Regions from separate parts of the Homo sapiens genome. Here region 2 is linked to region 1. The links are contacts of gene promoters, found by promoter capture Hi-C in human tissues and cell types (Jung and others, 2019). All regions are on one chromosome and are shown on one strand. The core of a region is centred on a gene start or on the middle of the fragment in contact, and the rest is flanking DNA. Distances in the headings are between cores, read along the strand shown.

Region 1 (7,228 bases), core at 3,302-5,801:
CCAAGCCTTAGAACCACTGGTCTACGCAACATAGGCAGCCATGTTCAATGGAAAATAACAAAGAGCAAGTCCCTACAATAAAACCTGCTAGAAAGGACACTTTTAAGACTCCAAAAATCAAAGTGAGTCAGGAGCCAATAGCTTCTATGAGGCAGAATGCTGTAAAGAACATTTAAGGCTCAGGTCCAAGACTATCAGAATCCCAGGAACACTAGAAAATGTTCTACAGAAGCAAGTTTCCATTTTTATGATGTAAAGGGAGAGGAGACAACTTCACAAAAAGACATTCTGCTTTATAAAATTTTCCAGGACAGTATCTATTTCACGAATCAAACACCCACTGACTTGAACCAAAAGCAACAGCTAATGGAAGTGTTGTTAATTACAGGATACCTTTCTCTCTCCCCTCCACAGCTCTTTTAAAAACTGAATAGATGCTGCTGCCCAAATCACAGAAAGGGAAATGCAAACATTTCTCCCCCTGGTCCTAAATGCCTAAGTTTTCATTTCAAATAACTGTCCCTTAAAGTTCTATGATCAAGCAAAGACTCAATTTCACAAATATAAACTCAAAAACTAGAACTCAGGATTGAAAAAAAAATCTAGTTCAAAATATGTAGGCAATAAAGCTCAAAATCTTTTAAGTATCAGACAGTAACTAAGCACCTGCTGCTATGTCGACTGCCATTAATAATAAGCCAGTCTTCCCTCTTAGGTTTCTACCCCTCCGCCTAAACAACAAAAACAGCTTTAGTGGCCATTATTTCAGGAGGTCGGAGCACATGCTGCACCTGTGAGCTTCAACCTGTGTTCTTGGCTTGTACCTGCCAGCAGAGCAGGATCCCTCCACCATCTCACCACACACCTTCTCAACATGAACACGGACATGCACATAAATCTAGGACATTCTGAAAGAAGGGGAAATACTCAGCCATGAGAAATCCTGTCCATACGGATGGGGGATCTCACAGTAAACAAAGGTCTAGCCCATAATGACTGAAAGTTCATTTGAGAGTTAGAAGGAGAAGATAAATCTTTCCTATTTAGGTAAATTAGGTGAGATAAAATATTTGTTAGTTAACACACAAAGGCTTCATGAAATTCTGGAGCCTTTCAACAATAGAAGACAGGAAAGAGGATCGGGCAAGCGGGGAAGAGAGACAGAGACATTCTGCACTCATTTCTGTTTTAAAAGTACGTTTCAGACAAACAGACTAGCCTCATAACAAACTACCTGGCAGGGCAGTGTGCTGAAGAGCTCTGAGCGAGTGAGCTTATTGGAGATATAACCCCAGGAGCACAGGAAGTCACCTGCAAGGAATCCTGGCTAGAGTCTCAGATAGAACCCAGAGAGAGGCTCCCAGAGGCTTTGCCGGGGGCTGGGAAGCCAATGACCAGGACATGCAATAAGCAAGAGATGGTCACAGAAAGTCAAAGCAAATAATAAAGACGGCAAATGGAAAAACACGTCCATAAGAGGTCGAATCGGGAGGTGCCCAGAGGTCAGACACAATCCAGTGAAAGGCTAAGTGGCCTTGCTTGTTCCCAGAACCACATGTTGGCAGACAGTGGAGGCAGAAACGCATGCAGTTCTCGCAATGCCTGAAGATCCCTCCAACCTCTTAAAGTCAACAGGACCAAAACCAAACTAACTCCTTGTGTTTCTCCCAGACCCCAGCCTCCTCACTCACGCCATCCTCCTAGCCGTTCCAGGGGTCAGCCACCCTCTTGTTCATTTTATTTGAGATGCATTCTCCACAAAAACTTTGAGTAAGAAAAAATAAAGAAATTTGTTTTCAGCTAATTTACCCACTCAAGAGCTTGCTCTCATCTCTCAGTTTTTCTCGGAAAATTTTTTGCACAATCCCTCCTTTCCTGACTCACAGGAATGAAATGTGAAAGTAAATAGTTTTGAGTACATTTTAACAATAATCTTCACTTCCCTATTATCGTCTCTGAAAATCTACCCCTAAAGTCATGCACAGTAACCTTAGTAATTCTCAAGTTGGAGAGATTATGTGCCCTAGGGGACCTCTGGCAATATCTGGAGACATTTTGGGTTGCTATAAATAGGGGAGGTAGGGCTGGGAGCAGTGGCTCACGCCTGTAATCCCAGCACTTTGGGAGGCTAAGGTGGGTGGATCACCTGAGATCAGCAGTTCGAGACCAACTTGGCCAACATGTTGAAACCCTGTCTCTATTAAAAATACAAAAATTAGCTGGGCGTGATGGTGTGCGCCTGTAATCCCAGCTACTTGGGAGGCTGAGGCAGGAGAATTGGTTGAACCCAGGAGGCAGAGGTTGCAGTGAGTCGAGATCACACCATTGCACTCCAGCCTGGGCCACAAGAGCAAAACTCTGTCTCAAAAAAAAAAAAAAAAAAAAATAGGGGAGGTGGTGGTACCGGTCATCTAGTGGGTAGAACTCAGGGAGGTGGCTCAATATCCTACAATGCCCAGGACAGACGCCACAACAAAGATCGGCTGGCCCAAAATGTCAACAGTGCCAGGGTTGAAAAAACTCGCTTTAGGAGAAGACAAGAAAAGAAGAAAATGCTTCATAATATAAAATATCCTAATATTCTCTTATGCTACTTCTTCTATAAGCACAAATAGACAAAGCACACACTGTATCTTAAAATTCCACATTTAGAGTTAATGAGAATTGATGTTATATGACAAGATCTGCAGCCGGGCAGGAGGGAGAGGACAGGTCAGCTCTGATTTCCCAACATAAACCCCTCCTTACTAAATGGTAACATGACTTTATCTTCGGGCACTGCTCCAGAGTGAAATACCTTACCAATAAACATCAACTCCAGCCTTATTATTTAATTTTATTTATTTATTTAGAGACAGAGTCTCACTCTGTCCCCCAGGCTGGAGCAAAGTGGTGCGATTTCGGCTCACTGCAACCTCTGCCTCCCAGGTTTAAGGGATTCTCCTGTCTCAGCCTCCCGAGTAGCTGGGACTACAGGCGTGCCCCGCCAGGCCTGGCTAATTTTGGTATTTTGGTTAGAGATGGGGTTTCGCCATGTTGGTCAAGCTGGTCTCGAACTCCTAGACTCAAGTGATCCACCCGCCTCAGCCTCCCAAAGTGCTGGGATTACATGTGTGAGCCACCGTGCTTGGCCCAGCCTCATTTTTTAAAACAGGCCTTTTGATTTTAACATTTTCTGCAAAAACAAAGTCCTCTGATATAAACTGTGATCCAGCTCAGACCAGGCATCTATTTTTGTCCCCTGCTCCCCGACTATGTAAAAAATTCCCATCACTAAACCTTCTCATTATTGGGAGGGGGCGTGAGCATGCGTTAAGATTTATGATTGAGACTCCCCCAAAAGTAGTAAAACACTTCCAGAGGATCTAAGACAATCACCAAAAGCGCCCCTTAGCGTGTGCGGCAAAAATTATAACCGAATGCAAAGAATCTTATCAAAGGAATGTCTTCAAGTTAACCAACGTTTCCTATTACACCTTCCAAAGCTGTTAGGGGCGAGTCCCACGCAGAACGTCCGCTGCTCTGCCTGGCCTCTGTGTTCTTGCTCCAGCCACACACCGCGGTCTCAGGAGTCAAGCACGGCACCTGGCTGCCAAGGCGTGACTGGAAAAGGTTAATTAACACCGAGCCTCTTCCAGGTGAACGCGAACGCGAGTGGGTGTGGACCGCAAGGTCGGCCAGTGGCTGCCGCGGGAAGCGCAGGCCCGGACCACACCCGACCTCCGCACTTGGGGTCCCCTCCGGCGGGATCCGCAGCTCTCGGGGTGGGTGGTCTCCAGCCGGCCACTGCGGGAATGCCGCCGGTCCTGGAAGGACACCCTTCTATTCAAACTCAAGGGAGAAAGGGATCATTTAAATCCCCCGCATGGCTGCGCGCTATCCCCGGAAGGCTGCTCCAGCACCACCTAGCGAGGATGCCGCCGCGCAGGGCGCTCCCAGGTGTGCACGCGCAGGTGTACGGATTCGGGGAGCGCTCCCAGGTGTACACGCGCAGGTGTGCGGACTCAGGGAGCGCTCCCCAGGTGTGCACGCGCAGGTGTGCGGACTCGAGGAGAGCGCCCAGGTGTACACTAGCAGGTGTGCGGACTCGGGGAGCGCTCCCAGGTGTGAGCGCGCAGGTGTGCGGACTTGGGGCGGTGGGGGGCGCCCAGGCTTGCACGCGCAGGTGTGCGGACTCGGAAGCGCGCCCAGGCGTACACGCGCAGGTGAGCGAACTCGGGGGGCGCGCCTAGGCGTAGGTATGCGGACTCCGGGCCGCGAAAGACAGGTCATGCCAGTGAACCCCCAAACCCGGCCCACGCTCCCTGCGCCCCAAGCCGCTCATCCCCAACTCACCTCTTCCAGAAATTTGGTCAAATCGTACACCTTGTGGTGCAGGATCAGCCAGGTGCTCTTGCTGTGGTTGTGCTTCTGAATCTCCTCTAGGGTGTAGTACTTCACGGCCTCGTCCGACTGCTCTGCCATCTCGGTTCGCCGCGAGCCAGGCCCAGCACACACAGCCCCGTCGGGTGGAGCAGAGCGCGCGACTCAGCCAGCTCCACCCGGGACATTCCCCGCGCCGGGAACCCCACTGGGGGCTGGGCGGCCGGCTCAGGGGCGGGGCGCAGTAGAAGGGCCTCCGACGGTTGGCCATCATCCTTGTCACTCAAAAGTCCCCGCCTTCGGTCGACCCCCTCCGCCTGCCCAAGCGTGGTCCCGCCCAGTATGCGGGTGTTAATTGGCTGCCGGAGGTGCCCTTCACAATCTCCCGGCTGCCGCAGCGCGCGGAGAGCGTGACAGGACTCCACGGAGTCTGCGCGGAAGGGCGGGACTAACTGTGGCGAGGGCTGAGGTGGGAGGTCGGGGGCGTCCCCGCGGGTTAAGCGTGCGAGAGAGCGAGGTGCACCAGCGGGCATGGATGGCCTGTGCAGAGTCCAGTCTTGTGAGGGCGGCGAACTAGGCAGCGAATCGCGGGAGTTTCCTATTGGCAGCAGTCCGAGTCCCAGACGTTAATTTGTAACAAAAGTAGCGATGGCCAAGCCCATAAAGGGGGCATCTCGGAAAGCCGTTCGCATGCACGGAAGAGATGAAAGCCCCGTGCGCGCTAGAAAACGGTTTCGCAACTCACTTCGGGAAGCAAATGCGCTGCCCCCCAAAACATAAAGTTGGCGAACTGTGCCTGACCCCGCTGGGGTTTTGGAATGCCTCGTCCTCACAGGAAAAAAATCCAGGGAAATCATCTTTTCCTTAAAAAGCAAAAGTGTCCAAATTATTTCTGTGACTGAAGTAGTTTGTCTGCGGTTGGCCAGTGACATGGCAAGGCCTTGTTTGTGCATTTAAGGTAAATCAGATTCTCTTCTAGGAGTCTGGAAGAGAACTTCCCCAAAGGGCACCCTCTTTCCCTTCTGACACAGAGGAAATACCACATATAAAGAGCTACAAATGTTTGAAGGAGAAAAAAAATAAAGAAAAATTCCAGCATGTTAAAATTTGATATTTTATGTAGGCCCTTTTCAGCAATGGTAGTTAATTCCAAAAAGAACCACACGAGAGGTTTCACATGTGGGGTCATCCATCCTTCCAGGGATGCAGAAGGTTCCTACACATACTAGGTGTCTGATGAATGTGAGCTCCCTTCCCCCTGCTTACCTCCTCCATAGGAATGCATGCCTATCCAGAAAAACACAAAACACACGCATGTCAGGCCTCTGAGCCCAAGCCTGCACATATACATCCAGATGGCCTGAAGCAACTGAAGAATCACAAAAGAAGTGAAAATGCTGAAGCAACTGAAGAATCACAAAAGAAGTGAAAATGGCCGGTTCCTGCCTTAACTGATAAGACAGTCACCTGTCCTCCTGCTCTTTGCTCTGTGAGAAAGATCCACCTACAACCTCGGGTCCTCAGACCAACCAGCTCCAGGAACATCTCACCAATTTTAAATTGGGTAAGCAGCTTCTTTTTACTCTCTTCTCCAACCTCTCTCACTATCTCTCAACCTCTTTCTCCTTTCAATTTTGGCACCACCCTTCAATCTATCCCTTCCCTTAATTTCAGTTCCTTTCCTTTTCTGATAGAGACAGAGGAGATGTGTTTTATCCGTGAACCCAAAACTCCGGCACTGGTCACGGACTCGAGAAGACAGTCTTCCCTTGGTGTTTAATCACTGCAGGGATGCCTGCCTGATTATTCACCCACATTTCAGAGGTGTCTGATCACCACAGGGACACCTGCCTTGATCCTTCACCTTGGTGTCAAGTACCGACCCCCCCTGTGTCTCTGCCCTCTCTTTTCTCTGGGCTTGCCTCCTTCACTATGGGCAACCTTCCACCCTCCATTCCTCCTTCTTCTCCCTTAGCCTGTGTTCTCAAGAACTTAAAACCTCTTCAACTCTCGCCTGACCTAAAACCTAAACACCTTATTTTCTTCTGCAATACCACCTGACCCCAATACAAACTTGACAGTGGTTCCAAATAGCCAGAAAATGGCACTTTCAATTTCTCCACCCTACAAGATCTAGATAATTCTTGTCGTAAAATGGGCAAATGGTCTGAGGTTCCTGACATCCAGGCATTCTTCTACACATCAGTCCCGCCCTAGTCTCTGCTCCCAATGCGACTCATCCCAAATCTTTCTTCTTTCTCTCCTGTGTGTTCCTTCGGTCTCCACCCCAAGCTCTGAGTACTTTGAATCCTCCTTTTCTGTGGAGCCATCTGACCTCTCCCCTGCTCGCCGGGCTGAGCCAGGTCCCAATTCTTCCGCAGCCTCTGTTCCCCCACTCTATAATCCTTCTATCACTTCCCCTCCTCACACCTAGTCCGGCTTATGGTTTTGTTCCTTGACTAGCCCTACCCCACCTGCCCAACAATTTCCTCTTAAAGAGGTGGCTGGAGCTAAAGGCATAGTCAAGGTTGTTGCTCCTGTTTTCTTTATCCGACCTCTCCCAAAACAGTTAGGCTCTTTTTCATCAAATATAAAACCCCAGCCCAGTTCATGGCCCGTTTGGCAACAACCCTTAAACGCCTTACCGCCCTAGACCCAGAGAGGCCAGAAGGCCGTCTTATTCTCAGTATGCATTTTATTACCCAACCCACTCCTGACGTTAGAAAAAGCTCCAAAAATTGGATTCCAGCCCTCAAACCCCACAACAGGACTTAACCTTGCCTTCAAGGTGTACAATAATAGAGAAGAGTGGCAATTACTTGCCTCTGCTGTGAGAGAAACTTCAGCCACATCTCCAGCATACAAG
Region 2 (7,228 bases), core at 3,169-5,668, 160 kb before region 1:
AATAAACTTAAACTAAATCACCAGTGTTTTCATAAAGGAGACACTAACACAGCATTAGACTGAAATCCCTGAGGAGCTGGGGCCACATCTCATTCAACAGTTGGTGCCCAGCACCTCAGGCACAAGCCAGCAGGCAATAGGAATTCAAAGGTACATTAAATAAATAAGTTAAAAAGGACACCAGCTGCAGTCCAGCTTCAAAGTGGAAGGGACTGTGAAGCATCAAAACCAGATCCGCAGCTGCCACATGACCCTAGTCCCATGTTCAGCTCTTCAAAATAACTTCTTGTGCAGAGAACAACAACTGGGTAAGGAGAGACGGTCGGTGAACGTGTGTGATGTAGAAATTAGAAATAAACCCAGCATATGCAGAATACACTTGGAGGAGGATAAATGCAGGGTCAGGAACCTCACTGTGGAGTCAGAGAAACCTGAGGTAAAACCTTAGCTTCAACCTACAGTGACTTTGCGACTATCACAGGCTGGTTCTTTGTGTATGAAATCACCAGCCTGCTGAGTGGGGACAAGAGCACACGGCATGGGGCAGGTGCTCAATAAATCGCAGTCCCTGCTAGTATCATTAATGTGGATAGAGGAGGCTGGGTGGGGATGTGAGAAACCTTCTTCTCTGAAAATCTGGCTGTAGAGGTACTTATTAAATAGACTCTGGGAATGTGCTGAGTCCTCATGTGCTTGGCCTTACAGCCACAGACACAGAAACTAAGGCTGACGTTTCCCCAGCAGTTCTCACAAATTTAGGGTGGGACAGCACAAGCTGCAGAGCAGAAAGTGCTGGCAAGGAAGAAAATTTGGAGTCTGACTAGAAAGGTATAAATTACAGGGAAATCCAGATTACATCAATGAGGCTTTCACTGTTGTTGAAAAACTTCTCATAGAGGAAACAAAAAAGACCCAAATAAAAATCACAAAGGCTCTTTTTGGCTGTCACACAGATGCGTACAAGGATTTATATTCCTGCACAATGAAAGCATTCACTTACAAACTTGCAATAAAAGTGCCGATCAAAACAAATCCTAAAAAACACTTTTAGTTTTGTTTATCACAGTTGATCAAAGGCTGGCTGGAGTCCATGGAAGTTTCACAGAAATAAATTACATCAAATGAATTTTCCCAATGAATTCTAGCATTGGGCACTATGTAGTATCTATTACTTCTGACCTTGATGACCATTTCAGGGAAATACTGTCTTTAACTGAGCTTTATAATTCAACATTATCCATTTAACTTAATTCTTCAGGATCATTTGAATTAATGTTAGCCAGTTTGTCCTAATATCTGTAAGTAACATTTCATGATATGCCAAGTAACATATTGTTTAGCAAAACTAGTACAGTTTGTGGACTTGTTCTCCAAACGTAATTTTGAAATGCATAAAGCCTAATTACTACATTAGAAAAAGCTGGCTTCCTTCATGATCCCGTATGAAATTTCAAAGATTTATCCAAATAAAAGTACCATTTTTTAAAAGGTAACTGTTTCCAAAGTATCTTCAGTAATATATTTAGGAAAAATAATTCATTTTTCATCATAACATTAAGAATATTTTTAGAGTACAATAAAACCTGGATTTGCCAGCACCAAGAGGTCTGAATAGTCTTACATTCAGAGCATGGGAAGAGAGCTCAGTAATCACTAAAACAATGCTCAAAGAGCAGGCGCCATGGAGAGGAGCCAAAAACAAGGTCCCCAGTTACAGAGCTGCAAAAAAAAAAAAAAGTGTCTGTATCCAGGGAAACCATGAAAGAACCCTGTCCCTCCATAGAGATGGCAGGCACTAATGTCAGATATCACAGTATCCTCCATAGCAAGGACAGACAGGAGAGAAACCAATGGGTGGAACTGCAGCACGCAAGGATGGTAAGAAAACGACATGGTAAATACTCCTGAAAAGTCAAAGAATACTGAGACAGTGAAGGAGATGGGAGGGCAGGAAACCAACGCAGGAGAAGGCAGGTATTACCTTTATATTTGCAATATATCTTATATAAAGCTATGTTAGCTTGCTCCAGAGATGAGGATGCTATGCATGCCATAATCCAGCTTTTAGGAGGAAGCAATCAATGATGAAAAAGACAGCCCGAGAGAGCTGCTCAGAAAGGCAGAATGCCAGCCTCATAGTGAGTATGGACTCAGTGCAAAGCCACCTGACAACAGAATAGTAAAGGGCTCACTAAGCATTACCCATGTGCTGCACACTTAGCTGATCTACGCATTTTATAGTGATATCTTTTGATCGATCTTATTCATTGCAGTCATATATGCTAAATACTATGCCAGTATAACGATCATTCCATTTCATAGAGGAGAGAATGGAGACACAGAAAGAGTAAGTTACTTGCACAAGATCACATATCTAGTAAGTTCAACAGAAGGCAGACAAAATAACTCATAATTATGACTTGGTTTCCTCATATTTAGACTATGATTAGTATACCATTTACTAAAGAAGGAAGATAACATATATCTTTCTGTTAAGATGGTTAAAATGAAAAACCTCAAAGGTTAGCCATCAATCATCCAGGAAATTTTGTTAACTAGAACATCATTCTTTACCATTAAAGACAACCCCAAGATACGAGGAAGTTAAATTTAGACCTAATCAGAAATGTGATAAAATGCACTCTTTTCCTCTTCTGCATTAATGCAGAATGTACATTTAATATGTGATAAAATTAAAAAACGCTGCTCTTATTTTTTAATTACAAAAGTAATGCCAACTAATATTTACATATAAGATGCTCTCACTCAACAGTTCTGCTGATTGGTACTTACCTATGTTTGGTGGGAGTTTTATACCAGTCGGTAAAAACTGGTGTCATGCCACATAAATCTAAGGTTGACAATGATGCTAGGCATGGCCATTTTTTGCCATACCATATAACAGTAACTGATGTGTCATTTATGGAAAGATCAACATGCTCCATGATATATTCTTTTCCACCTTTTTCTTTCAGTATAATTGCCCAACCTAAACCAAATATTCTGGAGAAAGAAAAAAAAACTAACAATGTTTGCCTCATTGAAAAAAAAAAAATGCTAAAGGCAATTTCATGTATCTTCTCTAAAGCATCTAGTTCCTTAAAAGCCAAAGTCAAAATTCTCAGAATGTGCCCAGTATAATTTTCACTTCAACAATAGTACTCTCTTTAGACTTTTTCTCCTCACCTAACACCCACTGAACATCCATGATTTTCCAGGTACTGGCAATATATAAATAAGACAAAGGTTCTGCCCAGAAAAGAGACCTTGAACATTCTTATTGTACTATAGCAGATAAGTAGGTTACTTCTGCTTTTCATTAAAACTTTAGGCTACTTACTAGTTATCCCTCTGTCTCCGCAAGAAATTGGTTCTAGGAACCCCATGATACCAAAATCTGTGGACGTTCAAGTCCCTTATATAAATGGCATAGTATGTGCATATAACCTATGCACCTCCTCCCGTATTCTTTAAATCATCTTGAGATTACTTATAATACCTAATACAATGTAAATGCTGTGCAAACTGTTGTTATTATGTATAATGTACTGGTTTTATTTGTATTCTTTTTTATACTGTTATTATTGTTTCAAGTTCCCCCCCACTAATATTTCTGATCTGCAGTTGGTTGAATCAGCAGATGCAGAAGGCTATGCGGAATAGGAAAATGATACATATTTTATAGATGCACAAAACACACAAAAATACTAGAGACAGTCCCACACAATCTAAACTGCACATACGTCCTACGTACACGATACTTTGAGCTGATGCCATCATTCTCTTTTGGAACACACTGCGTACCTGAGGGCCTCTTTGGTCTTAACTGGAAGGCCTGTGTAAGGGTTGACAGGTTTGAGAATGTCAGCTAGTGCGGCTTTTACAGATGCTATTTGTTTTGTGATATATTCTTTCTTCCAATAACCAGCTTCTTTATCCTGAACTGACAGAAAGCTCATAGACATAGCTATCTTCTCTACTGAATTAAATTTCCAATTTGATCTTGCAGGTGAAAAAGCAGTTGAGTAGATTCCGATCCAAATAAAACTGGAGGGAAAAGAGGAAATATGTTAACTAAGAGACACTGTCACCTACCTTAGTCATAATATATCAAATTAGAGATGCATATTTTCAAATAATCCAATTCCATGAATAAGCCAAGCTGAATATTTACAGTTGAACGTTCATCTGTTAAAGTGAATTGCAGTTTGAGATTTAGTGTTTTAAATTCAACACCACCAAAAACACATTTTAAAAAAAGGAAAAGCCCATTTCCCAGGGTCAGGTCTCAAGTGAGTAATCTCACGTTATTTAGGATCATCCAAACGACTGCCCTCTTATACCAGTAATGGAATAGGAAATATATTATTTAAACATAACAGAAAGTATATGTAGTATGATTCTTGTTTTTAAATACATACATGCTTTTAAAAAGATCAGAAAGGATGTATGTACACACACCAAGAAATTTCAATAGGGAACAATGGAATTGAACACTCTTTTTGCTATTTTTTAACTTTCAACAAGGAATACGCTTTCACAAAGAGAAAAAAAGTGAAGGTTTTTAATGGTAACAACTAAACAATAGTTAACATTAAATTTTGTCAACACTTACTATGTGTCAAGCATCGTTTAACCACTTTATGTATTATACATGACTCATTTATTCCTCAGAAAGAAACCAGGAGGTGCTGGTATTCCTGTCCCCACTGCATAGATGCTGTAACTGAGGCTCAGATGCAAGGTGAGCTGGCCCAGGTCTGTGCACTCAAGTGTATAGTGAAGCTGGGATCGGAACCAGAGCTCACACTCTTATCACCTGGGTTTCACTGCCTCTTCAATCACAAAGAAATGGGTCAAAGAAACTGAATAAGCTCCCCAAATTCAGAGAGCCAATAAGCCTCAATGTTGGAATTCAAATTCAGCTCTGACTCAAAGTCTGTTCCTTCCACTCATCTCTACTAAGAGGGCAGGAGAAGCCCCACGAGTGGTGGCAGTGAGCTGGCCTGAGAGCTCCTCCCTCTCAGCCAGTACTCTCCACCAGGAAAGAGAAGGAAGACACAGGGAAAACTGAGGCAGCGGTTAAAATCAATTCCTTATCTGAAAGGCAAACTTTGCATTTTAAACATTAATGATTTGCTCATTTAGGTCTCCACATTACTACTCAGAGCAGCATGGGATGAAGCAGTCAACGGCCTGGAGGCTGCAAGGAAAAAGCGATTCCCCCACAGAGCAGTGGTCCTGAACTGCAGCAGGACCCCTGGGGATAACTGGGTGCTCTGGGGAGGCAGAGCTATTTCCTTAACCACAGCAGAAAAGGACCATTTCTCAAACACGTGACTTTGGAACACCACCTCCTTGACTCAGACATTACATGGACTTCCCAACAAATGCAAGCTCACATACAGTCAGACCCTGGTTGAATTCTCTTCCTAGTGTGGGTTTCTCAGTCATTTCTCACTCTGCAAAATCACTTCATGCCTAGCTTTTATATTAAAGTGTTTGTGTTTTCAATTCAGAAATTTCTAGACTTTCCTATGTAAGCGGACAGATGCAATGCGATGATGAGTTGAGTACATTTAAGTAAAGCTGAAACTGTTTCACCAAAATCCTTTGAATAGACACTTTTAAAACTCCCTTTGCATAAAAGCTTGCTTGTGTTTTCTTCACATTTATTTTATTCAGCATCTCACCCTATGTAAGTATTCCTTTAGCAGGACCTTTATGGAGCCTTGAATTCCTCACATCAGCACTATCTAAACAACCTCTGATACTATTTTTACATGTGTTAGCACTTACCAACTGCAAAAACAAACACTGCCGCAGAGATGGGAATCACAGCATAAACTCCACATGCAGTGAGTAACCATAACCACAACTAACATTCGTATGATGAACTATGTTCACATACATGATCATATATTACTTACCGTAAGTGAACCTAAGTGAAAACATTTTATATTGCAGATGGTTCCCCTTGATTTTTTATAATATACAAATGTTAAGGTTCAGATACCTTTCACAGTCTCCAAACACATTTACTTCTTGATCCCCAAATGCTCCATCCTGTTAGAAGGCCTAGTCAGATTCGAGGACGAGGGCATATTTATCCAACAGAACTACCAACAGGCTCAGGGAAACTCAAACAAGTTGTTTAGAAAATGGGGCCAATTTAATGTTCAGATAAATAGTGTTTGCCAGAGTACATGGCAAATAAAACCCCCTTGTGATAAACCAGATGTCACCTCATCCACACACCCCTGTTTTTCTCACGCAGAGACAGGGCTCACACAGAAGGGAGTAGCCCCGCTGCTGGGATGGGGCACTGGGGAGCCCCCTGCCCTTCAAGTGTGCCTGCCCATAAGTCATCAGTGTAACTCACTACACTATGTGTGCTTGCCCTCTCTTCAGAAGTAACGCTTAGAATACACTGTAAACTTTTCAAAAACACATATTGATTACTTGTTCAATTATCACACATCCTTTTCTGTAGTCTGACTTCATGATCAGACGTTGACTTTAAGAGTCAGACTATGACTCTTTAGGTCCTTTAACAGGACCTAAAAAGTGCAATTCAACTTAGCACAATTAAATATGTCTTTTGAAAAAGAAAAGAAATGTGAGTGCAATTTCATCAGTAGCTCATATTTCCAAACGGCAACTTCCAAGAAAGTGAGGAGGGCACACAAATAATACTAAAAGTATGCAAAAAACATCACTAGAGCCATGCTCCAAATCTGATTCCAGGCCTGGTTTCTTCACCATGCAGGTGAAGTGGAGAGAGAAGACAGTAAAGAAACTAAGAAATATACAATGTATCAGCTTATCTGAAGAGTCTGAGTTCTACCCTTAAATAAAGTGGGAACCCTCCAGAATGCTAGTTTTAGATATTTGGTTGACTCCTTCCTTGAAAAATGCCTTGCTGTGCTTTCTTTTAGTGACCACCTTCATCTCTTATTAGATCATTGTCATAGTCTCTTTGTGTTGCTACAAAGGAATACTTGAGGCTGGGTAATCTGCAAAGGAAAGAGGTTTATTTGGCTCATAGTTCTGCAGGCTATACAAGGAGCACAACACCAGCATCTGCCTCTGGTGAAGCCTCAGGAAGCTTCTACACGTGGCAGAAAACCAAGGCGAGCCAACTGTGCAGAGATCACACGGCAGAGAGAGAGAAATAGAGTGAGTGAGCAAGAGAGAAGGAAGGGAGGTCTGCCAGGCTCTTTTAAAC

The links. The method cuts DNA at HindIII sites, captures the fragments that hold promoters and counts their contacts. A contact is called where the count stands out against the background at its distance.
Region 2: a fragment that was not itself captured here is called in contact with the fragment with the promoter of CYB5A in region 1 in 1 of the 25 tissues and cell types used here (dorsolateral prefrontal cortex).

What each region holds. Positions count from the first base shown.
Region 1 is chr18:74,287,412-74,294,639 of GRCh38, forward strand. CYB5A (cytochrome b5 type A) reads right to left here and starts at 4,552. Exons shown (of 5, transcript NM_148923.4): 1 at 4,336-4,552. The coding sequence starts at 4,464. RefSeq lists enhancers at 3,131-3,738, 4,344-4,513, 4,593-4,762, 5,052-5,111, 5,471-5,640. The HindIII fragment of the contact is 8,147 bases long and covers 4,350-7,228 here.
Region 2 is chr18:74,126,612-74,133,839 of GRCh38, forward strand. FBXO15 (F-box protein 15) reads right to left here. Exons shown (of 10, transcript NM_001142958.2): 4 at 3,805-4,047; 5 at 2,794-3,003. Among named protein-coding and RNA genes, the nearest start is that of FBXO15, 18 kb to the right of the region's middle. The HindIII fragment of the contact is 3,921 bases long and covers 2,459-6,379 here.